7 separate regions of the Homo sapiens genome follow, and all the other regions are linked to region 2. The links are contacts of gene promoters, found by promoter capture Hi-C in blood cells and fetal thymus (Javierre and others, 2016). All regions are on one chromosome and are shown on one strand. The core of a region is centred on a gene start or on the middle of the fragment in contact, and the rest is flanking DNA. Distances in the headings are between cores, read along the strand shown. Region 1 overlaps DNAJC13 (DnaJ heat shock protein family (Hsp40) member C13). Region 2 holds the start of TOPBP1 (DNA topoisomerase II binding protein 1). Region 3 overlaps DNAJC13 (DnaJ heat shock protein family (Hsp40) member C13). Region 4 holds the start of ACKR4 (atypical chemokine receptor 4). Region 5 overlaps DNAJC13 (DnaJ heat shock protein family (Hsp40) member C13). Region 6 overlaps DNAJC13 (DnaJ heat shock protein family (Hsp40) member C13). Region 7 overlaps DNAJC13 (DnaJ heat shock protein family (Hsp40) member C13).

Region 1 (3,423 bases), core at 215-2,714, 1.2 Mb after region 2:
TCTATCTCCTTCAAATCTGTGTTCAAATGTCACCTTTCCAATGATGCCGACCCTAAACATCTTGTTTTAAATTGTAACCACCCTCTCCTCATTCTACTTAAATTGTAACCACCCTCCTCCTCATTCTACCCTATTCCCTCTTACTCTTGTTTTTCCCCCATAGCACTTTCCACATTCTAATGTGCAATTTATTATTCACCTAATTCTACTGGAATATCCAGAGAGAGGTAGTTTTGTCTGTTCAGCTCACTATTGTTTCTACAGAGGCCACAAGAGTGCCTGATACAAAACAGGTGCTCAAAAATAAGTATTTGAGTTAAGGAATAAAATTCAGCAAATACATGGGCAATTCTGATATCTACTTCAAACCTGATGCTCTAACAGGGACTCCCAAATAGGGTTTTGTCAAACCTTCTGGAAAGGCATCAGCAATTCATGCTTTGAAAAATAACAAAAGGAACCACAAGTAACACCAAGTTTAAAGAAGCTTTTATTGTTACCAGAAAGAAGAAATTTCTTACAGTCAACTAACATCTTCCTGCTAGTGAGTATAGGGACAGCTAAATGTAGTCCTGACAGTTGGTATGGTGTTTTGTTTGTCTGTTTCTGGATTTCATACCTGGGATGACCAAAGCACCCAACTAAGATTTATTAAACCCAGTAAGAATTATCCCTGCCTTCTGAATCTTTTGCAGTAAATGATATTGCTGAAAAGAAACCTGGGCAGTATCTCTGAAGACTCACCAAAAAAGGGAGAGAGAGAGATATATAGGTGTACGGATATTTTTCCCCTATATAACTGAAGAGTGGAACAATGGGAAGAGAAAGGCAGATAGAAAAGGTGAATGGCTGATACTGAAGAATGGGGTTTGTATTCCTAGTCTAAACTTAAGATATTGGAATAACTGACTCTGTACCAAGGGCCTATCTTGGGAAAACTGAGAAACAAGAAAATGTGTTGAGTGGAGACTGGTTGATAAAATTAAGGATCTAAAAATTAAAATGAAAGGCAGAGAAAAATAAAGATTTTAAAACGACAACCATAAAAAACACGGGGCATGACCCAGAAGGAATAAAGATCCCTAATAAACCCATAGGGGGGAATAAGAACAAAATAATCTCATAATAACAAAAGAAATATAAGAATTATTAAATAAATTTTTTAAATAATTTAAAAAATAAACACCTAAAGAATGACCTCATAGGTACCACTGATTTGGGGTTATAGAACTCCAACAGACCTTTTGGGACATGAATTAAATAACTTTACATCAAGAAGGCTTTTGAAGGTCTATAAACCTGAAGATGATGAAAGCACCAGACTCCAGAGAGTCCTTAGGACAGATAAAAGGAGTATGAGAAGATATAACACATTAAGATAAAAGTAAACTACCAATGACCTGGCCTATTAGAATAAATATTGTATTCCTGATGCAGATGAGAATGCTGACAGAAAACTAGTGTAGGAGGAAAGTAGTAGTACTTCAGTTCTCCAGAAGTTCATATCATCAGTACAAGTTCCTATGTCCAATATTTGCACACCTGATAATTTTCTGTCTCTAATATTTAAGAAAGCAACAAGTGATGTTTTACTCTGCATCCAATAAAAGGCTAGTAAAATGGGCTTTTTATGGAAGAAAATTGCTCCTCTATTTGAAAAGCCTGTCTTCAACTACATTATATTTATGTAAGGGTATATCTGAGAGGTAAGGGAGGGAAGAGACACCCCACTAACTAGCCAAGTCAACCCCAGAAATAGTGGAATAATTCAATGCTATATTACCATCTGCCTAACCTCAAAATGGAAATCAGGATAATGCTTTTCCATTTTAAAACTCCATTGAAGACTGCCTTTAATAAAGGTAGGGAAGCAAGGTGACTCTAATCTGAAAATTTATGACATGTCCTGAAATTATTAAACAACTTATATTGAATACTCATCACATGTTGGTGTTCAGCCTATGCATTTACCATGCATTTATTTCATTTTGTCCCCATAACAACACTGCAGTACAGGTATGACTCTCATTTTATTGACAAGAAAACTGATAAATCACTTTTCTAAGGTAACACAGCTGGTAAGCGATTGGGCCAGACTTTGGACTAACCTCCTTAACTTCTACACCCTAGGTTCTTAACCTAAACTTTAATACCTTCCCTCAACTTTAAGGAAAAAAAAAAACTTCACCCTGACCATGTAATTACAGATGTATCATTTGACTGCAAATTCCTGGAATAATTCAGAACTAGTTTCGGTTATTATCTTCATCTGGACAGATGATACTTGTTAGAAATAACTTTGAAATCTACAATTTTAAGCAGTAAAACAAATTACCATATTCAACATAGGACAAAAGAAATAAAAATAAGTCTCCAAAGCTGAAATATTCTATCATCTATAAATAAACTTTCAAAATATTTCCTTCTTTATATAAGCTTAAAAAACATTTTTTGGCTGGGCGCCGTAGCTCACGCCTGTAATCCTGGCACTTTGGGAGGCCGAGGTGGACAAATTACAAAGTCAGGAGTTTGAGACCAGCCTGGCTAACATGGTGAAACCCCGTCTCTACTAAAAATACAAAAATTAGCCAGGCGTGGTGGAGAATGCCTGTAATCCCAGCTACTTGGGAGGCTGAGGCAGGAGAATTGTTTGAATCCAGGAGGCAGAGGTTGCAGTGAGCCGAGATGGCACCACTGCGCTCCATCCGGGCTGACAGAGCAGGACTCCGTCTGGGGGGAGGTAGGACATTTCTTGACAAAGTGTTCAAAACAAACATACAATGACAAAAATTTGTTACCAATATATGATCTCAGGATACTCTTTAAAGAGAGTTCAATTACTCTAACCAACATCGAGCTTTTAAAATAACCAGATTGGCTAGGCACCATGTCTCATGCCTGTAATCCTAGCACTTTGGGAGGCTACTGTGGGAGGATCACTTGAGTCCAGAAGTTTGAGACCAGCCTGGGCAACATGGCAAGACCCCCATCTCTATTTAAATATAAATTTTAGATGAAAAAAAGATAAGATAACCAGATAAATGAGATCTGAGGCTGAGATCTATTTCCCGGCAGTGTAATATTAGCCTATCCACATTTTCAGGTAAATCTATTTTACATTCTCAGTAAAATCTTAACTATTGTTTGATAAAGTCATTTCAGCCAATGAATGGCAAGTGGTCTGGAAACTGCATTAACTCTTTTAGACCACGAAGATACTTTTAGACACGCACGTAACTCGCTAATGAAGGTAATGGCAATGCACAAAGATCAGAAAATGTACCAACTATGTATCATTCAAAGTGAGAGGTAGAATAATTTCAAGATAATAATTGGCAAATGAGTGAAGACAAGTCTAGAGGTCCTCCAAGTACAGTAGTCAGGAATCATTCAATCTGGGAAGACCCTGGAATACCTCCCTAG
Region 2 (3,542 bases), core at 671-3,170:
TTTCTTCATCTTCATTAGCAGCATCTATGAATCTCCTTCTCTTGTGAGGTCTCTACTTGGCCCAGAAATGCCAGGAATGGGCTCCCTCCCCGGTGTGGAACTTCACACAGAGATGGGCAGACAGCACGTGCCCAGGAGCAGTGTGGTGTGTCAGGAAAGGCACGGGCAAGTGACACAGTCCCTGAACTTCACTTTCCCCATCTCCATAACATGAGACAATGATACCCATCTATTATAGGGTTGCTGAAAAGAGTAAACGGGAATAGTGTGAGCAGGAGTCCCATGTTAACTGTAAAGTGCCCTAGAAATATTAATTGTTATTACAGATTCAGGTCAGATTTGCACCTTAACAATTAACTGTGGTTTCTTTTTTTTCCCACCTCTAGTGATTTTTGTTTTTTTGCTTTTAAGGCTTTCTTCACCCTTCCCCCAGCAATAGGCCTTTACCTTTGAGCCCCAGTGTTAATTGATTCTGACTCATTTCTGGTAAAAAAAAAAAAAAAAAAAAATTAATGATATTTATTAAAGCACAGTAAGACAGATTTTATTCCGGACCATCAGGATAGGTATAGCAACCATGGCAATGGGATTCTGAATTAGGAGAGAGAGAGTGGGCTCAACTCTAAATACACCATGGGCAAGTGGGAATTTATAGCCAAGGAACAAAAAGCTTGGGGTCACTGGATAAAAAATTACTAAGAAGGAACTTCAGGAGTAAAGGGGTTTCTTGCTGAAAATAGGTCAAGGTGATCAGACATCACCTTGGATGGTAGAGGATGAGGAACCTGATCAGATATTGAGGGTAGAGGGTTCTAACTGGATTTTCCAAGGAAATGCACAGATAAACCTACGAGAAGGTTGAGGAGTCTGACTAAAGTTTGGCCAAGCAAAGAATCTTTGTCACCTTCCATCGGTGTATTCAAAAACTTAAGACTCAAGCTGCTCATTACTATCTTTAGGCTCTAAAAAGAAAAGAAAAACAAAAACAATCAAGGGACATGGCATTATACTTTTACATTAGTAAATCCAAAGTCATTTTCTCAATCTCAGCAGTGAATAATAAAATGATCCTCATTAGTATAGTGGCTAGATTTTATAAAATAAGAAAAAATTTTTTTAAAAAAGAATAAAATGAAAAGAAGCAACAACGAATCAGTTTTCCGCTGGTTATCACTAAGGTTTGCAGGCCCATCTTATCCCCTCTCCCTTTGCTCTCTGCCATCTGAATCTTAGGTTCAGTCCCAGAATCTCCCCAGTACTGAGGCAGATGCAGAGAAAGAGAACGGCGATGTCCACTGAAGGGGAGGAGGAGGGGAGACCATTGAAGATCTTGACAAAGATCCCTTTGCATTAGCTGTGTAATAAGTCATCCTTTCTTCCCTTGCCATCTTGTGGCTGTGTTAGGCGGTGATTCTATTCCTGCTGTGTTGGAGGGAAACCACCCAGTCCGTAGTCAGAAGACCTGGATGCAGTATTAATTCTACCACCTACTAGCCGTGTGCCCTTGAACCCATCATTTAACTTCCTCCGTTTTTACATCTACAAAATGGAACTACCACTATTTGCCTCACGGAATTGTTTTGGATAATACCTTTTCCCGTGCATGCCTGGTATAAGACAGGTGTAAAATAAATATCTATTGAGGAAATCCTTTCTTTCCCTGGCTTTTTTAACAGTAAAGGAGTATTCCTGGCCTGTGGTCCTACCTCTTGAACCGACGGCGCTGGGCCTACTCGCAGCGGAGACTAGGCCCGCCCAGCAAAGCCCTAAACCCAAAGGGTCCGGCCCAAGCTTTCCCTGAAGCCCCACCGCCCACAGACTGCTCACCTCCACGTTTGACATTTCCGCTCTTCTGCTGCAGCTGCCGATGGCGTCACTTCCACCGGAAAAGGCAAGCGCGGCCGCGCGGTTGGCGCGAAAGTCGGTTCCCGTTCTGGGCAATTTCCGGGTTCTCCAGCGTTTGCTTTGGGGTAGGGGCGGCGCCGAGTCGGGGGAGGGGGCTGTGCGCCGGGCTGGCGCCCGACCCCAGCCACCGCCCTGCGGCCAGCGCGTCCCCCGACTCGCCGCCCGGAGACCCCGAGGCTCCAACGAGGTAAGTGAGGCGCGGAGTGGGGACACAGCTCCTCCCCAGCCCCAACTGGGGTTCGCGATGCCTTCTGTGGCCTTCAGGACCCTCTTTTCCTGTCCTGGTAACTGGCCCTGGAGCCGGCGGGTGGGCCTTTGACGCCGAGAGGACGTGGCTTCCGTGATCCCAGAGCCAGGCCTTTTCCTGGAGATGGGAACCGGAGCATCTAGCCTTATGCAGGGCCAAGACCATGCTAACTGGCTTCCATGTTTATATTTAAAATCTGTTTACTGAGGGATGAACGTACCTCGCAGGCCGTGGGTATCCGCAGGGACAGATACACTCTGTGTATCCTTAAAACAAGTGCAATTGAATGTCCATTGGCCTAAAGGGCTTAGAGCCTTCATAGCAGGGCCTTCCTCAGTGTATTCAATTCGGGTTAATTTTGCTGTCTGATTTGCAAGGATTGGTGTTGTCATCTTTTACCTTGGCTTTGTCCAAGTTCCAGGATTTCTTAGAAATGCCGTTGACGAATTCACGGGCAGAGCCAGAATGTCTGTCTTTAGGCATTCTTGTCTGCACAGAAAAATAGGTAGGTTAAACATGCAACTTTTTATCTAATGTGGTTTTGTTCTTGTTAATGGTTCCTTTATTTTGACAGTTCAGAAATGTCCAGAAATGACAAAGAACCGTTTTTTGTGAAGTTTTTAAAGTCTTCAGACAATTCCAAATGTTTTTTTAAAGCTCTCGAGGTAAGAGTTGAAAACATCTTAATACCGTGAATTCATTTTCTTGTTTTTAAGTGTTTTTGATTTGTTGGGCTTTATGTCTTAGAAGTAGATATTTCACTTTCATAATAATTTTATAGTCTACATTAATACAGATATATCATTATCACATATTTTTGAATTGATCTAAGTACATCATTATGTATTTCGGGGGGCTGGAAGTCTATTATCACATTGCTGTTTAATATGGCTGACCTACAGTTCTTGGAAATTAAGTTGCTTTCATTTGTCTCCTAGCCAGAGTGGTCCTTTGCGTGCTGTAGAAATTTGAGTCAGTTGTGTACTGGTCATACTTGAAAATTTTTTGGTTAATTGTTAAAAATTATGTTTTATTATGTACAGTATAATAATTGGATGATAGTAGGGGTGATGTAGATCCTTGCTTCTCACAGAACCCAGCAGTATCAGCATGGCCTGGAAGTTTCTTCGAAATGCAGAATCTTGGCCTCCAACCCAGACTTAGAATCTGCATTTCTAACAAGATCTTCAGTGTGCATTAAAGTTTGAGAAGCATTTGTAGCAGATTTTTTTAAACTTCATTCATTCAGCAAGTATTTATTGAAGTGTTCATGATTTGATAGGCACTTCTCTAGTACTTGGGATTTATCAGTGATGAGAACAGGCAAAGATTTCTGTTCTTTCAGAGCTTACATTCTAGCAGGAGGACATAGACACTAATCAGACATGAT
Region 3 (3,410 bases), core at 798-3,297, 1.2 Mb after region 2:
ACATCTATCCTTCCCAGGTGAATGGATATAGTCCTAAGACAAAATATTTTATTATCAGTGACCAAGCTGAACTGTGACCAATACTGACCAAAGCTGGGGGCTACAATAAAAAAAAAAAAAATCATCCACGTGGCACTTCTAGAATATCTTTCAATAATGGTATGGTATCTACCATGAAGACAAATTTAATTATAACTTACCACATGGGAATTAAATTTCTCCAGTAAGTTTTCCAGAAACTTCTTTGACGAGAGAAGAGAAGCTTTGTTCAACTGTTCTTGTCTTAAGTCATAGTCATCATGCATGGGCTATTGATGAAAAAAAAAAAACAGTGATAATTCATAAGCAGTCCCATGTGCTAGCATCACGCAAAAGTCATTTATAAACAGTATTCATTACACATTGAAAGAATTAAAAACCATTGCCTTTAAAGTGTAAGGCAAAAAGGAAACTCGTGATAAGCAGGCAGAAGTGACGATTTACCATGATTTTGATCAGACTTCACAGATAATTTGCCCAACAATTAACTCAACATATACAAAAGGTACTCTCTCAAAAGTCACAGATCTTATTAAAAGGCAAACATTTGCCCACCCAGAATTTTATAACTAAAATTTGAAATAAAACTTAGCATTTAAATGTACTAAAATTAACAACAAATACTTGTCTCAGGGTGATTTTCTTTTGAGTGTATAAAACATTCCAGCGTGATGGTTAGGAGTAGAGCTCCAATCCTAATTTTACTACTGACAATAACTGGGAGACGTTACGCAAGGTAAGTTACTTTACATAAGTCTCTAAGTTTCATTTTCCTCAGCTGTAAAGTAGGAGTAATAGTATTTATGTAACATTACTATGATGCTTAGATGAGATAATTCATGTAAGATACAAAGCCAACACCTAATATGTAATGAGGGCTCAATGTTTGTTTCATAGCATTGTTTCTTACTTTTTTTTATTGTGGTAAACTACATATAACAAAAGTTACCATCTTAACCATTTTAAATTACACTGTTCAGTGGCATTAAGCATTCACATTGTTGGGCAACCATCACCACCACCCATCGCTAGAACTTTTTTCATTTTCCCAAACTGAAACTCTGTAATCATTAAACAATAATTCCCCATTCTGCCTTCCTCCCAAGCCCCTGGCAACCACCATTCTACTTTCTGTGAATTTGACCTCATATAATTAAAATCATACAATATTTATCCTTTTGTGACTGACTTCTTTCACTAGCATCATGTTCTCAAGGTTCATCCATGTTGCAAAACGTGTCAGAATTTCCTTCCTTTTTGTTTCTGCTCATTTAGCAAATACTGTATGTTACTATGGTTAATTGTATAAACTTTGGAGCCAGAAAGTGGGCTTGAAGCCTCCTCTGCCATTTACTAGCTACATGACCTTGAACAAGTTACTTGGGCCTTAAGTCCTTCTCTACAAAATAGATATAACAGTAATAACTTCTAAAGTTCATTGGAAGACTGAATAATATATGAAAAATTCATAGAATAGTACCTGAAACACAGAAAAAAATTAATCATTATTTATTAAACAGCTTGACAAGGCCTGTTAAGGATAAAAATTAAAATTAAACATGAATATTATCCTCAGGAAGCTGACAGATTGAGAAAAATACATCATGTTTAGAAATAGCAATAATTCAAAGAAGAAATTGCTAAGAAAGACAAGTGTAATATTTATGAAGGGTAATCTCACTTCAGGGAGGGATACATCACTACCACCTTCAGGAATAAGAAAGCTCCATTTATTTTTAAAATTTTATTTTAATTGTTGTGGGTACATAGTAGGTGTGTATATTTGGTAAGCTTCATTTAAAAGCTGACTTGAGCTCTTAATGAATAAGCAGGGAAAGAATTCTGAGCAGGGAGAATACATGAAATATTAAAAAATATATACATTGGTCTCCATCCTTGGCTCCTGACATAGAGCACCTAAAACCCTTGCAGACAGGGGCACTAGCAGAATCTTTTGTTGCAACAGTCTTTTACCCTGGTTCCTGACACAGAGCTCCTAAGAACTTTGCAATTTCCTGATAGGGGAGCCTGACACAAAGCTCTCTACCATTAGAATTTCCTGGGTAATAGGAACATCTTTTGTTCGAATAAAGCAACTCTCCATATCATTGTTAAGTTCTAGTTATCTCACTACTTGTTTGGAACAGTAAATAAAATTAATTTGCTTTTGGGAATGCAAGGTTTTACAGAAGTATTTACTTATGTTTATGTACGACTAAGCTTGCCTAAAACACTTTATATAAGGAAAAGTCCCAGGTACTACACACAAAACTGAGATAATCAGAAACTTCAAAACTGTACTAAACAATTGTTTCTCCCTCTGTACAAGCTGCCACTAAGTTAGATCTTTACTGCGCAAACAGCTTTCAGGTGTGCTGCTTCTTTAGCCCTGTGACTACCCTAGCTCAGCAACTCATTTCTTACGTGACAATTTGGTCTACCTGCCTCTAATTTTACTTCTATTCTCCACATACTACCAGTGTGGGTTTTTAAAAACTCAAACCTGATCACATTACTGCTCTCTTGCTAAAAAAAATCCTTCAGGTGTTCCTTACAAAAAGATAAAAATCTAGCTCCTCCCTCCTGATACAGAAGGTTTTTTATTACTGTCTGCATACATCTCTAGCTGCAACTCCTAATTACCCCCCATCCATACCTTATAACCCAACCATATTTAATTATTTGTTGCTTTCCAAACATGCCTTTTTATATGCTATTCCCCACCCAGGAAGGCCTTTCCAGAGCTAGAAAATTCCTGCCTGTCCTTCAAGATTCAGATCAAATGTAACATCTTCCAGAAAGACTGGGTGAGAATCTTTCATCTTCCCCTCATCACCAAACAAAAATAAAGTGCTGCTTTTCAAGATCCTATGGCCCCTACTACCTTACCTTGTACAGATATGCCTACCTTACCAGACTGTCAACAAAGTGAGGAAGAAAAGAACTTCTGTCTTAAGATCTTTGAATTTCTGGCACACAGCACATTGCCTGGTATTTAGGATATGCTAAACAAAGGTTTGAGTAACTATGAGAACAATTTATGAAACAGAAACAAGAACTTATTGGTACAATGAAAATCTGGGACTGTGGAAATCAAAACCACCAGTCAACTTAAGAAAAACCAGTTTCCTTAAGAAAACTACTACTTACACACATAAGGGCACAAAGCATATCAACTGCTGCATGGATTATTCCGTTGTTGCTTCTTTTGAGTGCTTTTACTACCTTCACCCCTAGACGCTCGCGAAACCTTTTGGAACAAAAAACAAGCATATACTAGCAATACCAGAACATTTTAAATTGTTATATTATTGAAATAGATCATATTAACTTTCCATTGCACTACTGGAACAATGACGTATTTTAAATTC
Region 4 (3,490 bases), core at 970-3,469, 1.1 Mb after region 2:
TGTTGCCCAGGCTGGAATGCAGTGGACAATCTCGGCTCACTGCAACCTCCGCCTCCCGGGTTCATGCGATTCTCCTGCCTCAGCCTCCCAAGTAGCTGGGATTACAGGTACACACCACCATGCCTGGCTAATTTTTTCTATTTTTAGTAGAGATGGGGTTTCACTATGTTGGCCAGACTGTTCTCGCACTCCTGACCTCGTGATCCACCTGCCTCGGCCTCCCAAAGTGCTGGGATTACAGGCGTGAGCCACCGAGCCCAGCCTATTTTTAAATTTTAATCCATTTATTTATTTATTTATTGACCAGGTTATGAGTCTGTATAACTTTTTGTATTTTTGATAGAGACGGGGTTTTGCCAGGTTGCCAAGGCTGGTCTCAAACTCCTGGGCTCAAGCAATCTACCTGCCTTGGCCTCGCAAAGAGTTGGAGTAACAGGCATGAGCCACTGCACCTGGCCAAGCAGTATCTTTCTAACTGATAGCCTGTTGTTACTCCTCCTCAATACCTCCTTTTCAAAAACGTTTTTCTTACTTCCACCAGAGTATTTGATCTCTAAATTGCCAATCTACCTCTCCTCTGTTTTGTTCCTCATCTGGAAGACACATCTCTTCACCTGAAAGCCACAATCCAAGCTCCTTAGCATAACACCCAAGGCTCCCTTCATAATGTGGTGCCATCCATGGCTCCTGCCACCTCTCCCTACTCTGTGTCCACACTAGAGACAGTGATAGGACTAATTTCTCAGCAGTGGGCTGGCACCCACCATGCAGCAGCATCTGTCTACATCATTGCTCATTCTGTTCCTTTATCTACCATACAATTTCCTGCCCTTCCCTGGAAGGGCCAATTCCTACTCAATAAACGCGGATGCGACCTCCCCAGAAGACTTTCCTGATGTATTAGCAATCTCTACATACCCCTCAGAGAACTGATCCATTCTGTGGAAAGGATGCGTTTCCCATACTACCTTGTTCCTCTAGGTTTTAAGTTCCTCAAAGCATGACCTATTTGATTTGTGTTTGTAAATAAAATCTTGTTAATGTGCCTGGCACAAAGTAGCTTCTCAGTAAATATTTGTCAAATTAAAGCTTTTGCCAACAGGTATAAAGCTGTTACTCTAGAATGGATAGATAGTATGCCAGAAATCTTCTATGTCAACATTGTTATTGCACTATGTTGGCTACTAGCACCCCGTAGTATTAAGATAAGCTTGCACAGAATTCGTAAGTTTTGGAATGTATAAAATAATGACTTTCAGTGTTTTTATTATAGTGCTGAATTTTGTTTTCCTTTTTCTTATCCTTTCTATTTTCCTTGGGTTCTTTTTGTCCTCTGAAGTATCTCAAATATTCTTATAGAATCAATAATGAAAATATTATTTTTAAAACAGTGTGCCAACTTATAGTACATTTTCAAAAGAAATGTTCTTATGTTTGCTAACTTTTTTTGAATGAATATAGCAAAGAAAAGAAGGCTCTGAAGAAAGACACCACATAGAAGAATTGCTTTCATTATGTAAAAACCGGGTGCCAACTTTTTTAAATGACTCTTTTTATCATTAAAGTTACTTAAAAAGTTCCAATCTGGAAGACTACTCTGGTCTTCATGTTCTTATGCATTAATTATTAACACAGTATGAACCTTGTTCTTCCTTTCTCTTTCATCAGAAAATCTTGAACCTGATGATAAGAAATAATATGGCCAAATATTATAATATATTAAGGAAGGGAATTTTTAAGTAAGAATTAATCTTACTAAAAATGTGAGTAAAAAAGAGTAGAAATGGAATTATTTGCAGAAATGATCCTTCCGGCAGATATATAGACACGCTTTTAAGTGTCTTTATAATTACCATGAGAATAAAAAAAAAATCAGTACTTGTAAAAGAAAGTGAAAAAAAGTGGTATAATAAAACCTATTTTCTCCTTAACAAAGTTTTACCGACAAGTAATGGCATTTAAAATCGTATTTTCTTCTTGCTATATTAAGATTTTCATTTAAGGTTAAACTGTACAGCTATTTTCAAGTAACCCTTTTTTTTTTTTTTACAAGTAAGCATTTAAACTTTTATGCATCAAGACTCCATCTATATAAGTAAATATACAAGATCTTTGGGCTTAAAAAAATATTCAAGTCAGAATAAGAAAAGAAATAAAGTACCAACCTGTTGTAGTCGGCAGAGAGGAGCAGTCTTGAGTACAGAGTATAAAATCAAATGACCTAACTCCAGCTACTTTTGTTTTCACTTTACACCCCGCCTTTATCTTGTATCCAAGAAGGCTTTCCTGAAATTTAACCTTGTGAGCACTTGATATTTTATTTCCTGTAAAACCATCTGTGAAGTTAAATTCAACTTCTTAAGTGGTTTAGGTTACAAATTTGAGAAAATCCATCTTTTTTCAAAAACTATAGACCTTTCATAGTTTCCACTTAGTCAAAGGGGACAAGAAAGTGCCTGCAGCTGAGCTACTGACTGCTGAACCAGAAGGAGAATCCACCTGAGGGCATCTAGGCAGCACTTGTAGGTAGCATCTAGAGAAATACTCTCTAAAGTTATTTTGCCTAAGGAAGAAAGCAAATATGATTTTAACCAAGGAAAATATCTTTTTGAAGACTAAATTATCAAAGATTAAATTATAAGTAATCATTAGGTATTTGCAATAGAATTTAACATTTTTATGCCACATCATTTAATATTTATTTAAACTACTAGAGTCTTCCTGGCTTCACTGTACTTTCTCTATCCTTGTCCCAGAGTATTTTCCCATGGCTTTAAACTCTCTTGCTTTCTTGTTACCTTTTTTCCCAAAGCTAGAATATGAACCTTCAAAATCCTTCAGTCTGGGAGGCTGTTTATTTTTTCCACATTTCCACACAAGTAAGTTAGAGAAAGAAGAGAAATTTATGCTGATTTGGCCCTCATGGTCTATTTGAACTTGGCTTTCCTCAAATTTGCATGGCAGTTATCTATTTTTTCATGCAAGGCCAGGCTCAGTCTCCACCTGCAGAAATTATTTCAGACCCATGCCATTTTTTCTATTTTTCTCTTTTTTAAAAAAAAACTTTTAAGTTCAGGGGTACACATGCAAGTTTGTTACACAGGTAAACATGTATCATGGGGGTTTGTTGTGCAGATTATTTTATCACCCAGGTATTGAGCCTAGTACCCATTAGTTATTTTTCCTGATCCTCTTTCTCTACCACCCTCTACCCTTTGATAGGCCCCAGTGTGTTTCCCTCCATGTGTCCATGTGTTCTCATCTTAGCTCCCACTTATAAGTGAGAACATGCAGTATTTAGCTTTCTGTCCCTTTGTTAGTTTGCTAAGGATAATGGTCTCCAGCTCCATCCACGTGCCTGCAAAGAACATGATCTCATTCTTTTTTATGGCTACATAGTATTCCATGCTGTATATGTACCACATTTTCTTTGTCCAGTCTATCATTGATGGGCAAATATTTAGGTTGATTCCATGTCTTTGCTATTGTG
Region 5 (3,167 bases), core at 67-2,566, 1.1 Mb after region 2:
AAAATCCACCTAACCTGCCAAACTCACCTAAAGATATCAGTTAGAAGAAAGGGTTGGTGATGTGTGTTGTCACAGCAACCTTGATTTCAATGATTACAGAGGGGCTGGGTACAATCTGTATCTTCTGAAGTTTGGGAGTAGCACGGGGCACATTTTAACTAAATGAAATTCCAATTCAACACAACACTATAAATTCCTGGAGTTCCACATCATGGGATTTTATCATTATTAGAACTACATGCCCCTTTTATCAAACACATGATACACAATACATCAATGAAAAGCTCAAACACAAAAAACATTTGGCAACTCAAGCAATGAGCACACATCAATCCAACTGGCAGTAAATTTACCTAATTTATCTCTTAATTTGCCTACATCATCTGTAGTTAGAGGATGTAGGGCTGACATCTTATATACTACAATTTCAGGCAGACAGCAAGAGTTAGAAGCTTTAATTCTTGAAATAGTTCTTTCATTTTTAATGTAACTTAATTTTTTTTGAGACAAGGTCTTGCTCTATTGCCCAGGCTGGAGTGTGGTGGTGAGAGCTCAGCTCACCTGTGACCTCCACCTCCTAGGCTCAAGAGAGCCTCCCGAGTAGGTGGGACTACAGGCATGCACCAACATGCCTGGCTAAATTTTTGTATTTTTTTATAGAGACGGGGTCTTGCCGTGTTGCCCACGCTGGTCTGGAACTCCTGGACTCAAGCAGTCCGCCCACCTTGGCCTCCAAAATTGCTGGGATTACAGACATGAGCCATTGCACCTGGCAAGTTGGTCCTTTCAAATAGGACAGACTAGAGCTGATGAAAAAATTTCCAGCAACTGACATCGCTAAAAAAGAGCATCCCAGATTGATAACATGCTCAGAATTTCACAATTCTGGGGTCAACAATGCTTACAGCTTATCCAGACTGTTCTACATGGACACGTCTGCAGGCTTCAGTAATGGCCTTCTGGAAGACTCATTATCTCCATGCCCCTTCCTGGTTGGGTTTTATACCATCTCCCCATTTGGCCAGACCTGTACAGAACTTGCTGTCCCTTAAGCCGGCTCAGGGATGGGAAGAAATTTGTATACCCCAACTTTTCTTTTTCCCTAACCTTCTTCTAACCCCTTCACAGCCACTTTTCATATCTCATTCAGAAGCCACCGCATGGATCCAAGTAAAAGGAAAGGCACAGACAAGAAGCTTTTTACTGCCTATACCTTTTCCCTATAGTTACTAAAGCATGTGGATGGGGGTGAGGACCAAATGAAGTCCAGGTTTCTGAAGATAAACCCCTATTTCTTCTGGATTCTAACCACAGACCTTTTGGTTCACACTCTGTAAGTCAAGGACATATGTTTTTTATTTCATCAAGTTAAGTCAAAGAATGATAGATAAGACTGAACAGAAGAATTAGAAGAGGCTTTCCTGTAGAGAAGCTTATAATATACACATTACTATTCTTCAGGGCCAATTTACTCTTAGTTAAGAAAAATAAGGCTGACCAGGTGCAGTGGCTCACACCTGTAATCCCAGGACTTTGGGAGTACCAGGCGGGTGGATCATTTGAGGCGGGTGGATCATTTGAGGTCAGGAGTCCGAGACCAGCCTGGCCAACACAGCAAAACCCCGTCTCTACTAAAAATACAAAAATTAGCTGGGAATGGTGGTGCACACCTGTAATCTCAGCTACTTGTGAGGCTAAGGCAGGAGAATCGTTTGAACCCGGGAGGCAAAGGTTGCGGTGAGCTGAGCTCATGCTGTAGTACTCCAGCCTGGGCAACAGACCAAGACTCTGTCTCAAAAAAAAAAAAAAAAAAAAGAGGGCGGGCATGCTGGCTCACGCCTGTAATCCCAATGCTTTGGGAAGCCGAAGTGGGCAGATCACCTGAAGTCAGGAGTTTGAGACCAGCCTCTACTAAAAATACAAAAATTAGCTGGGCATGGTGGTACATGCCTATCATCCCAAGTACTTGGGAAGCTGAGGCAGGAGAATGGCTTGAACCTGGGAGGCAGAGGTTGCAGTGAGCCAAGATTGCACCATTGCACTCCAGCCTGGGTGACAGAGCCAGACTCCGTCGCAAAAAAAAAAAAAAAAGCCAGGTGTGGTGTCTCACGCCTGTAATCCCAGCACTTTGGGAGGCCGAGGTGGGTGGATCACCTGAGGTCAGGAGTTTGAGACCAGCATAGCTAACATGGCAAAATTCCGTCTCTACTAAAATAATAATAATAATAATAATAATTACAAAAATTAGCTGGGTGTGGTGGTGCAAGCCTATAATGCCAGCTACTTGGGAAGCTGAGGCAGGAGAATCACTTGAATCCAGGGAGCAGAGGTTGCAGTGAGCTGAGGTCGCACCACTGCACTCCAGCCTGGGTGAGAGAGCAAGACTGTCTCAAAAAAATAAATAATAAAATAAAAATAAGGCAGATTTTTTTTTCAATCATACCATCCTTATACAAAAAGTAATGAATGTAATGCCATGAAAACGTGGTATGTGAACTTTTGGACATAGGCTAAAGAGGTAAAGTTTTTATACTGCCTATAAGAACAAACTCCTACTTAGAAGCTATAATTTTAACACCAAATCTGAAGAGAGATATGGGACAGACTGAGAACACAGTCTAGGTATTTTTCTCCATAGATATGAGGGACAGGGGATGGAAAAGTTAAAATAAAAACCTATGACACTGTTCTGAACAGGACATGACCTGCAGCCAAAGCACTGCATGTTTATAAATTTTAGGACTCTGCTCCAACTTTAGGAGTGTCAATATTAAAGTGGTTATGGTGAAGAAAAAAAAGTGTCACACCAAGTTTAAAATTAAAACCAGGTAAAATTTCCTCCAAAGCCTCTAATTTTGAATATTCAAGATAAAGTCTTCATGATCTTATAAACTTCTATACTAGCAATCAAGATTAAAACAATTACAATGGCTTAGAAACCCTGGGTGATAATTTTTTCTCTTAGTTTATCATCTTTGGTTAGGAGAGAATGCAGGGCTGACATCTTTTTATATACTACAATTTCAGGCAGACAGCAAGAACCGCCTCATATTCCTAAGGTTAATTTCAAATTAAGAACTTTTATAGCAGACTAGATATTGCCTCTTTAGCATTCAGCAAGAGTCTGACTTATGTTGAAGCCTATATGAAAATGACTATTCTAAAAT
Region 6 (3,599 bases), core at 1,018-3,517, 1.2 Mb after region 2:
GAGAGCTTTTAAATATGGTACTTTGGGCATTTTATTGTACAAACATGGAAAAAACTTATCTATGATACTCATCTGTAAAGAAGATCATAGAGAAAAGGGCTGATAATCCCAGTCCTTCCTATTAAAAAATCAGCCATTAGAAGGGCAAATGGTATAGCATCTGAATGCATGAGGGTGTAGCTAGGAAACTGAAACTGGCTATTATCCAAAGAAGCTCGCTAGATGGTATTTATTTCAATTAACTTACTGTAGTCTAGGATCTGGCCTCAGCTAAGCAGAAACTTATCAGCACATAGAGCAATTCGTCTTTTAGATGGGGCCTTATATTTGCCAATCTCAGGAGAAAAATATTACACAGAAGAACTGTGTTGCTAATTTATTAATATTCTTATATATTTTTTCCCAATGAAAAATATGACTGCCATACAGAATATATTCAAATTGCTGGCTAACACATGCCAAGCCCATAGGTCAAGAAGTCAAATGATAACAAGCAGGTGGCATGGAGTGTGTGCAGTCTGACGAGGGTCAGTAATTGACATAGAAGATCTAATGCTATCTAGCTAAGGGAATTGAGGGGTTCTCCAAAAAGAGATAGCCTTGACACTGGAAATATGAAGTATCAAGTCTTTTCTGAACAGAAACTGGCTGGGCACTGTTATCTGCTTCTGAGCCTTTCCTTTTTCTGTGTTTCCACAGGTTTCTCCTATGGCATTCCCCCCCAACAAAGACATACCTTAGGAATGCTAACCTCCAGATTAAGGACAAAAGGTGTTGGTAAGGGAGCCCACATTCTAGAATAATTTCGGGTATCTCTGTTCTGATTCATCGATCCAAATTATGTGGGCATAGCTTTTAATTAGTGGGAGTATAGTCCTACTTCCAGATACCCAGAGGTATGTCTTGATTTTACCCCAATTCCCTATATATATATTATCAGTTCATTACCTAAAACCTTACGAGTTCTATAAACTGATTTAAGAAGTACCAGCAGTTGGTAGGCCCTACCATTATATAAAGCTCTATTAAGGTAATAGCAATTTTGTCAAATCTTATTAGAATAGAGAAAACCTTAAGGCCTTATCAAAATCCATCATTTGATTTGGCATCAATGATTACTGTCATTTTAGATTATAAACCTAGTGAAAACATTTCTTTTAACAGAAGTCAAAGCAGATGGCGAGCAGCAAAGACTTAATTATAAAATACAAATCAATCAGTCAACTGGTTATTTACCTCATTTCACTGCTCCAGATTGCTTCTGGAGTATCAAATTCTCCTAGAAAAATCTCAGAAAACTTTTCAGGTTCATAATTTTCTAAGTAACAAACCATTGCTTCAGGTAGAATGTGCCCAAGTATACTTCTCTGAAAAATATCTTGTCCTTTTGTCTTCAAAACAAAACAAAACAAAAGGTAGTCAAAAACACTAAAGTTAACTTTCAATTTTCTAATAAATGATTTATGGTTAGAGAACACTTTAAGAAAAGAACACAATTGGAACAAATTGCTTTTATGCTTTGGGAATGTAGATGGAAACACAGCAAAATGTGAACTGGAAGGTATCTGGTACAAACTGGCTTGGCATGAGCTCTAAGGCAGAACCAACAGCCTCTGGCCCTGCAGCAGTCTTAGCTTTAAGTGTCACAAGCTGCCAATATTATTTAGGACGACTGGCCTTTGACCATGTGTAACAGTAATGGATAACAGAAGGAATATCCCAAGAAGATTTACATCAATTATCCTGCATTATATTGTTGGCTGTAGGTCCCACCTGTACTTGCTTCTGTTTTCAAAAATAAGTTCAGAAGATCATTAAGAGCCTGTCCTCATGAAATGTAGCTAGGATTTAGATGGAGAATTTCTACTTAAAGTAATTATAATTAACTGCTTTGCGAAGTCCATATCCTCTGGCAGGCCAAATGGAGTTAGGATAATGATCATACTAAATTTTAAACTCATTTCTTTACTCAATGGAAATAAAATCCCAAGGGCTAGCTAGGATTTATACAAATAAATGCTTTTCTTATTTCCTTCTAGGCAAATTTAAAGACATTTTACTTCTCTAGGATAAAACAAAGAGACGAGGGAAAAAACCCAAACATTGTTTTATCATGTGGTGCAAAGACAAATTAGAAGATGAATATTTTCAGGCTTTCTGCTAATAAGAGTAACAAATTCACTATCTGTTAAACTTTTGGGTAAAGAATTGCTAGTTGTATTCTTCAATACTATTATTTGGTAATTCATACATCCAGACTTGTGCTATAAACACTGTTTTGCTATAATTATTCAAAATACTGTTAGCTGAAATGATACAAATCATTTCTAATAAATTTGGAAAAAATTACAATATGCATAATGGCACAGAAATAAAGGAAGAAAAAGAATGCCCAAATGTCTAATACTACATGAAGGTACTATCATTAGAGACTTTTTTAACTTGTTTATATTCTCATTTTCTATTTGTAAAAAGCTGTGGAAATTATGCTGCCATGGGCATCTTTAATATTAGACAAATGGGTTACTTTCTAGGGCTTCATTGGCTGCTCTATAAAACATATAATTTAGTGTCTATTGTCAAGGTGGTGCAACATTCCTTGGTTAGTCTTCTCAACAGTGGTCTGGTTTTGGTTTCTTATTCTGCTTGATATGATCCAAAAAAAAATCCATGCTCCATGAAAAGCTGAACATATTTCAAAACACCCTTCAGTTTCATTTTAACAATAAATATCTCTTTGTAAAATGTAGGCATTAAGTTTAGATTGTCAAAACTACCTAAATAAGTTTTTTTTTTTTTAATTCCCAGCTTAACCCCACAGTAAAATGAAAGCATATGAAACATGGAGCAGCTTCAAAAAAGAAACCTAGCACTTCTGCCACTTTGGGATCTGAACAAAAAGGCTGAAGTCTTCCTGAATCTTAGCTGACGATGTAAGACTCAGGTACATAATGAATTATTTACAAAAATCACTAATCTAAACTTTATACAAAGAGAACAACTTATATTCATGGAGGTGTCAGGCTATAGTTCATAGCTGCAATTTCAATATTAAGTCTAATGAGTCAGCAACATTTATTTTCCTTTAAAAATATTAGCTTAGACTTTATATGTGCAAGGTACCACAAACAATGTAAGAACAGAATAAAACAATACCTACCCTCAAGTACTTATAATCTAGTAAACATAATACACAGCTCAGGAAACTTTATAGTGCCAAAACAGCTTACCCAGGGTTAAGTATTCAGAGGATTAACCTGGCTTACCTCTTCTGACTTGAAAGCCTGTTTGGTATGTGTGTATTTCAAAAATCTAGAAAGAAAAATGAATTATCTATCAGATATAGAAACCGATTTAGTTTTTGTAACCTTAGTTTTCTAAAGACTAGATCTTTTATAGCTAAATAAAACTCACAAATGGCAACTCACATAAATCCATATTCCCAAATTATTTAATTTCTGAATAAGGCAAGAACTTAAATGAACTAGAAAGATTTTTAAAGTGTAGTCATATTAAAGCTATGTGACAATATAAAAAAATTATTAAACTTTAAGAAAGCAAAATGTGAAACTGCATGTACAATATGAATATAGTTATAT
Region 7 (3,239 bases), core at 611-3,110, 1.2 Mb after region 2:
CCCTCAGGCTAAGACCTTTATCAAATAAACAATCCAAATATAGCTCAAAAATCTAAAGTGTAAGGTAGTAATTTCACTCTACCTCTAGACCTTAGGGTTACCCCCCTCAACCTAATTATATTCTGGGAGACTCTGACATGATTTGGCTTTTAAATAAGACTAGGTTAGAACTCTGCCACTTAACTATAATACAAACAAACTGGTATGAATATACAAAGCACTCCTTGTGAAAATACATAAAATGAAATGGTATTTCCATTCCTACCCACCTCAAATCCTAATCCCATATATTTACTTCCGTTTTGTTCAGCATATTCTTCCTCTTCTATATGGTAGTAAAACATACAGTGTAATTTCTTATCTTTTGAGGATTCTTAAGATAGCTCAGTAAGACTCCTTCAACTTAAAGAGTCTGAGAATATTCTATAAATATGTTGCTTTTAAATTCATTTTCAAACCACTTATTGATAGGGAATAACTGTCAAATACATCAATGACACACAAACCATACTTCTAAATTACGAGAGAGTTAATTCTAATAAACTTGATGGATATTATCAGAAGGATTTCTGCACAGGCCTTTCTTCAACTCTTTACAAGTTCCAAATCAATAGTCTGCTCTGCTACAATTTCTTTGTACCTAACATACCACTAGTAATATTCGACACTTTGACAACTCCAAATAAAAGACAAGTTTTCTTCAGATTTTATAACACTGTCTTTAATAACATCCCAATGTACATCTTGTAAATGCGTAATTTTCCCAATATTTAATTACTGTTATTTTATTTAAATAACTTTTTGGCAATAACCCAAAAGTCAGAATTTTAACAGTACTTTAATACATACTAAGAAGAGTAAAAATGTACTTGAAAGGTAATGTTCAATGTTATTTTAAAAGATCGAGTAATTTAAATTGAATTTGTATCATTTTAGGTTTATGTTCTATATTTATTATCTAAGTTAGAGTTGAGAGAAGCTGTTACATTTTCACTCATCCATCTCCCTGGAGTCAGGCTAGAGTAATGTTTTTGGAAATGTCCTCTTAAAGATGATTAAGAGTAGGAACTCTCATATCTTTATTTCAATTTTTATACACCAAAAACTTCAGGCAATTTTTGAAAAACATCAGTGCCCATATGCACATGGCACTGGTTAGGGACCAGAAAGGAGGCAAAAATTAGATCACTTATTATTAAATAAATCTAATTCAAGCACTTATACTTGATATGTTAACTTAAGACATCAATGTGAAATTTTATACTATCAAACTATTCTGCCTTTTCAACTCATTTAGACACATGTTCTCATAAAGACATGAATTTTTCTAAACATAGTGCCTTGACCTCTCTCCCCAGCTTAACTTTTATTGTAAAACTATTACAGGGTCAATTCCCTGTAATGTTATATTAATACATTATAACCAAGTATAATTTTCCCTGAGTTTCCCTGATAAAATTGATTATTGGAATTTTTAGGGCTCCTGTATTATACGAGTCTTATTGATCAAAGGTGTAGTCACATACCTGGATTGTATTTTATGACATTTCTCAGAGCCTCCAAAGCCATTTCTACTCTCGGTAAGCGATCTCCATGTTGCTCTGACTCCACTTTTGCCGCGTGTGTGATGGCCATGAATGTGTGCAAGTATTGGGCCTGCGAGCCTATATAATCCAAGAGACTTGCAGCAAATGCTTTTGGAACCTAATCAATGCAGACAAGTATTTAAACAACATGGGTGCCCTAAGAAATAACTCCATAGCAAAAGAAAGAACTTTAAGCTATGAAAGTGAATAAAACATGATTAAATTATACATACACATGAATACACCTATGCACTATAGGGGGGATGTAGAGGGCAGGAAACATTATAAAGTATTTCTCAACTTCCAGAGATCTGATATACTCCCATTAGTATCTTAGTGTAACAATTCTGAGATTAGAATACCTCCTCCCTTTATCAATCGAAGTAACAGATAGTATGATACAGAACTTCTAAAATTTGGTTATATTTTTATAATTAAGTTATATAAAATTTAGAAATTCAAAGGACAATTTTCAAAGGGACGTCACAAGTCACTTAACTCATTCTGCTTAATAGCTATTTACATATATATTACTCTGTGATACGTGATATACATTATGGCATAGTACATTTTTCCTCTAAGAGTAAACTCTAAAACAAAGCCTCACTTCTTTCCTTTTTACAAACAAATCAACCACCAAATCCTCTTTGCCACCTCCTACAAGCCAGGGGCAGTGGCTTGAACCTGTAATCCCAGTTACTTGGGAGGCTGAGACAGGAGGACTGCTTGAGGCCAGGAGTTTGAGACCAGCCTGGGCAAGACAGTGAGACCCGTCTTTAAATAGAAAAAACAAAAAATGAAAGCAAAAACTCCCTATATGATCCCCAAGCACTCAGAAGAAGCTCCTCAGCTGCTTCTGGAAGTGATGAGGAATCATCACAAAAGATGATCTGATGTGACTCCAGTCATCTTCTAAAAAAATCTTTATTTTCAACCTATATTTTCTCCTAATATTGGCCAGAGGAAGCCTTGTGTCTGGTGGTCTGATATCCCTTGTGATGAAATGAGCATGTAACTGGCCTTGTACGTCCATGAAGGACTAGTGAGTTAAAGGCATATAAACATGGCCCAGTGGGATAGCAGTAGGCACAAAATATAAGAAAAAGCTGGGCAAGGAACAACTTCTTATGAATAAACTTCACAAAATTCAATTCTTCAACAATCAAGATAAAGAGGCTCACAAGCTGTCAGTGGTCACCCCATCACAAGCATTTGGTATTATTTCGGTGTAAAGGCACACCTCAGAGATAGTGTGGGTTCAGTTCTGGATCACCAAAATAAAGCTAATTTTTTGGTTTCCCAGTGCATATAAAAGTTATTTTTACATTATACTGTGGTCTATTAAGTGTACAATAGTATCATGTCTAAAAAAAACTACGTGCATACCTTAACTGAAAAATGCTAACAATCATCTGAGCCTTCAGCAAGTCAATCTTTTTGCTGGTGGGAATGTCACCTTGATGTTGACAGCTGCTGACTAATCAGGGTGGTGGTTGCTGAAGGTTGGGGTGGCTTCCCAAAGTAAAACAAAGAAGTCTGCTCTATCAGCTGACTCTTCCTTTCATGAAAGATTTCTTTGTAGCATGTGATCTGTTTGACAACATTTTATCCACAGGAGAATTTCTTTCAAAATTGAAGTCAATCTTCCCAAAC

What was found. The method cuts DNA at HindIII sites, captures the fragments that hold promoters and counts their contacts. A CHiCAGO score of 5 or more calls a contact.
Region 1: a fragment that was not itself captured here is called in contact with the fragment with the promoter of TOPBP1 in region 2 in 1 of 17 cell types (monocytes); the score reaches 6.1 in monocytes.
Region 3: a contact is called between a fragment that was not itself captured here and the fragment with the promoter of TOPBP1 in region 2, in 4 of 17 cell types (monocytes, naive CD4 T cells, M1 macrophages and 1 more). The highest score is 7.6, in monocytes.
Region 4: the fragment with the promoter of ACKR4 here is called in contact with the fragment with the promoter of TOPBP1 in region 2 in 7 of 17 cell types (M1 macrophages, M2 macrophages, M0 macrophages and 4 more); the score reaches 11.0 in M1 macrophages.
Region 5: a fragment that was not itself captured here is called in contact with the fragment with the promoter of TOPBP1 in region 2 in 4 of 17 cell types (fetal thymus, M2 macrophages, M1 macrophages and 1 more); the score reaches 8.6 in fetal thymus.
Region 6: a contact is called between a fragment that was not itself captured here and the fragment with the promoter of TOPBP1 in region 2, in 6 of 17 cell types (monocytes, M2 macrophages, neutrophils and 3 more). The highest score is 11.6, in monocytes.
Region 7: a fragment that was not itself captured here is called in contact with the fragment with the promoter of TOPBP1 in region 2 in 4 of 17 cell types (M2 macrophages, monocytes, neutrophils and 1 more); the score reaches 9.5 in M2 macrophages.

Annotation. Positions count from the first base shown.
Region 1 is chr3:132,428,063-132,431,485 of GRCh38, reverse strand. The region is part of intron 1 of DNAJC13 (DnaJ heat shock protein family (Hsp40) member C13); the gene reads right to left. Among named protein-coding and RNA genes, the nearest start is that of DNAJC13, 12 kb to the right of the region's middle. The HindIII fragment of the contact is 1,949 bases long and covers 490-2,438 here.
Region 2 is chr3:133,660,319-133,663,860 of GRCh38, reverse strand. TOPBP1 (DNA topoisomerase II binding protein 1) reads left to right here and starts at 1,920. Exons shown (of 28, transcript NM_007027.4): 1 at 1,920-2,092; 2 at 2,727-2,817. The coding sequence starts at 2,734. It overlaps LOC124909487, which reads right to left and starts at 2,635. Exons shown (of 3, transcript XM_047449438.1): 1 at 2,515-2,635; 2 at 1,828-2,348; 3 at 523-962. The coding sequence starts at 2,635. The coding sequence ends at 813. It also overlaps a transcript of TF not described here. RefSeq lists an enhancer at 1,494-1,563 and a silencer at 1,964-2,133. The HindIII fragment of the contact is 9,162 bases long and covers 1,794-3,542 here.
Region 3 is chr3:132,457,148-132,460,557 of GRCh38, reverse strand. It overlaps DNAJC13 (DnaJ heat shock protein family (Hsp40) member C13), which reads right to left. Exons shown (of 56, transcript NM_015268.4): 13 at 3,190-3,289; 14 at 201-308. Among named protein-coding and RNA genes, the nearest start is that of DNAJC13, 41 kb to the right of the region's middle. The HindIII fragment of the contact is 429 bases long and covers 1,833-2,261 here.
Region 4 is chr3:132,595,999-132,599,488 of GRCh38, reverse strand. ACKR4 (atypical chemokine receptor 4) reads right to left here and starts at 2,219. Exons shown (of 2, transcript NM_016557.4): 1 at 2,166-2,219. All of the region lies in intron 13 of ACAD11 (acyl-CoA dehydrogenase family member 11), which reads left to right. All of the region lies in intron 39 of NPHP3-ACAD11 (NPHP3-ACAD11 readthrough (NMD candidate)), which reads left to right. The HindIII fragment of the contact is 3,278 bases long and covers 1,213-3,490 here.
Region 5 is chr3:132,531,982-132,535,148 of GRCh38, reverse strand. All of the region lies in intron 55 of DNAJC13 (DnaJ heat shock protein family (Hsp40) member C13), which reads right to left. Among named protein-coding and RNA genes, the nearest start is that of ACKR4, 64 kb to the left of the region's middle. The HindIII fragment of the contact is 236 bases long and covers 1,199-1,434 here.
Region 6 is chr3:132,488,689-132,492,287 of GRCh38, reverse strand. DNAJC13 (DnaJ heat shock protein family (Hsp40) member C13) reads right to left here. Exons shown (of 56, transcript NM_015268.4): 31 at 3,267-3,312; 32 at 1,237-1,391. Among named protein-coding and RNA genes, the nearest start is that of DNAJC13, 73 kb to the right of the region's middle. The HindIII fragment of the contact is 4,727 bases long and covers 1-3,599 here.
Region 7 is chr3:132,509,532-132,512,770 of GRCh38, reverse strand. DNAJC13 (DnaJ heat shock protein family (Hsp40) member C13) reads right to left here. Exons shown (of 56, transcript NM_015268.4): 44 at 1,527-1,704. Among named protein-coding and RNA genes, the nearest start is that of ACKR4, 86 kb to the left of the region's middle. The HindIII fragment of the contact is 4,957 bases long and covers 1-3,239 here.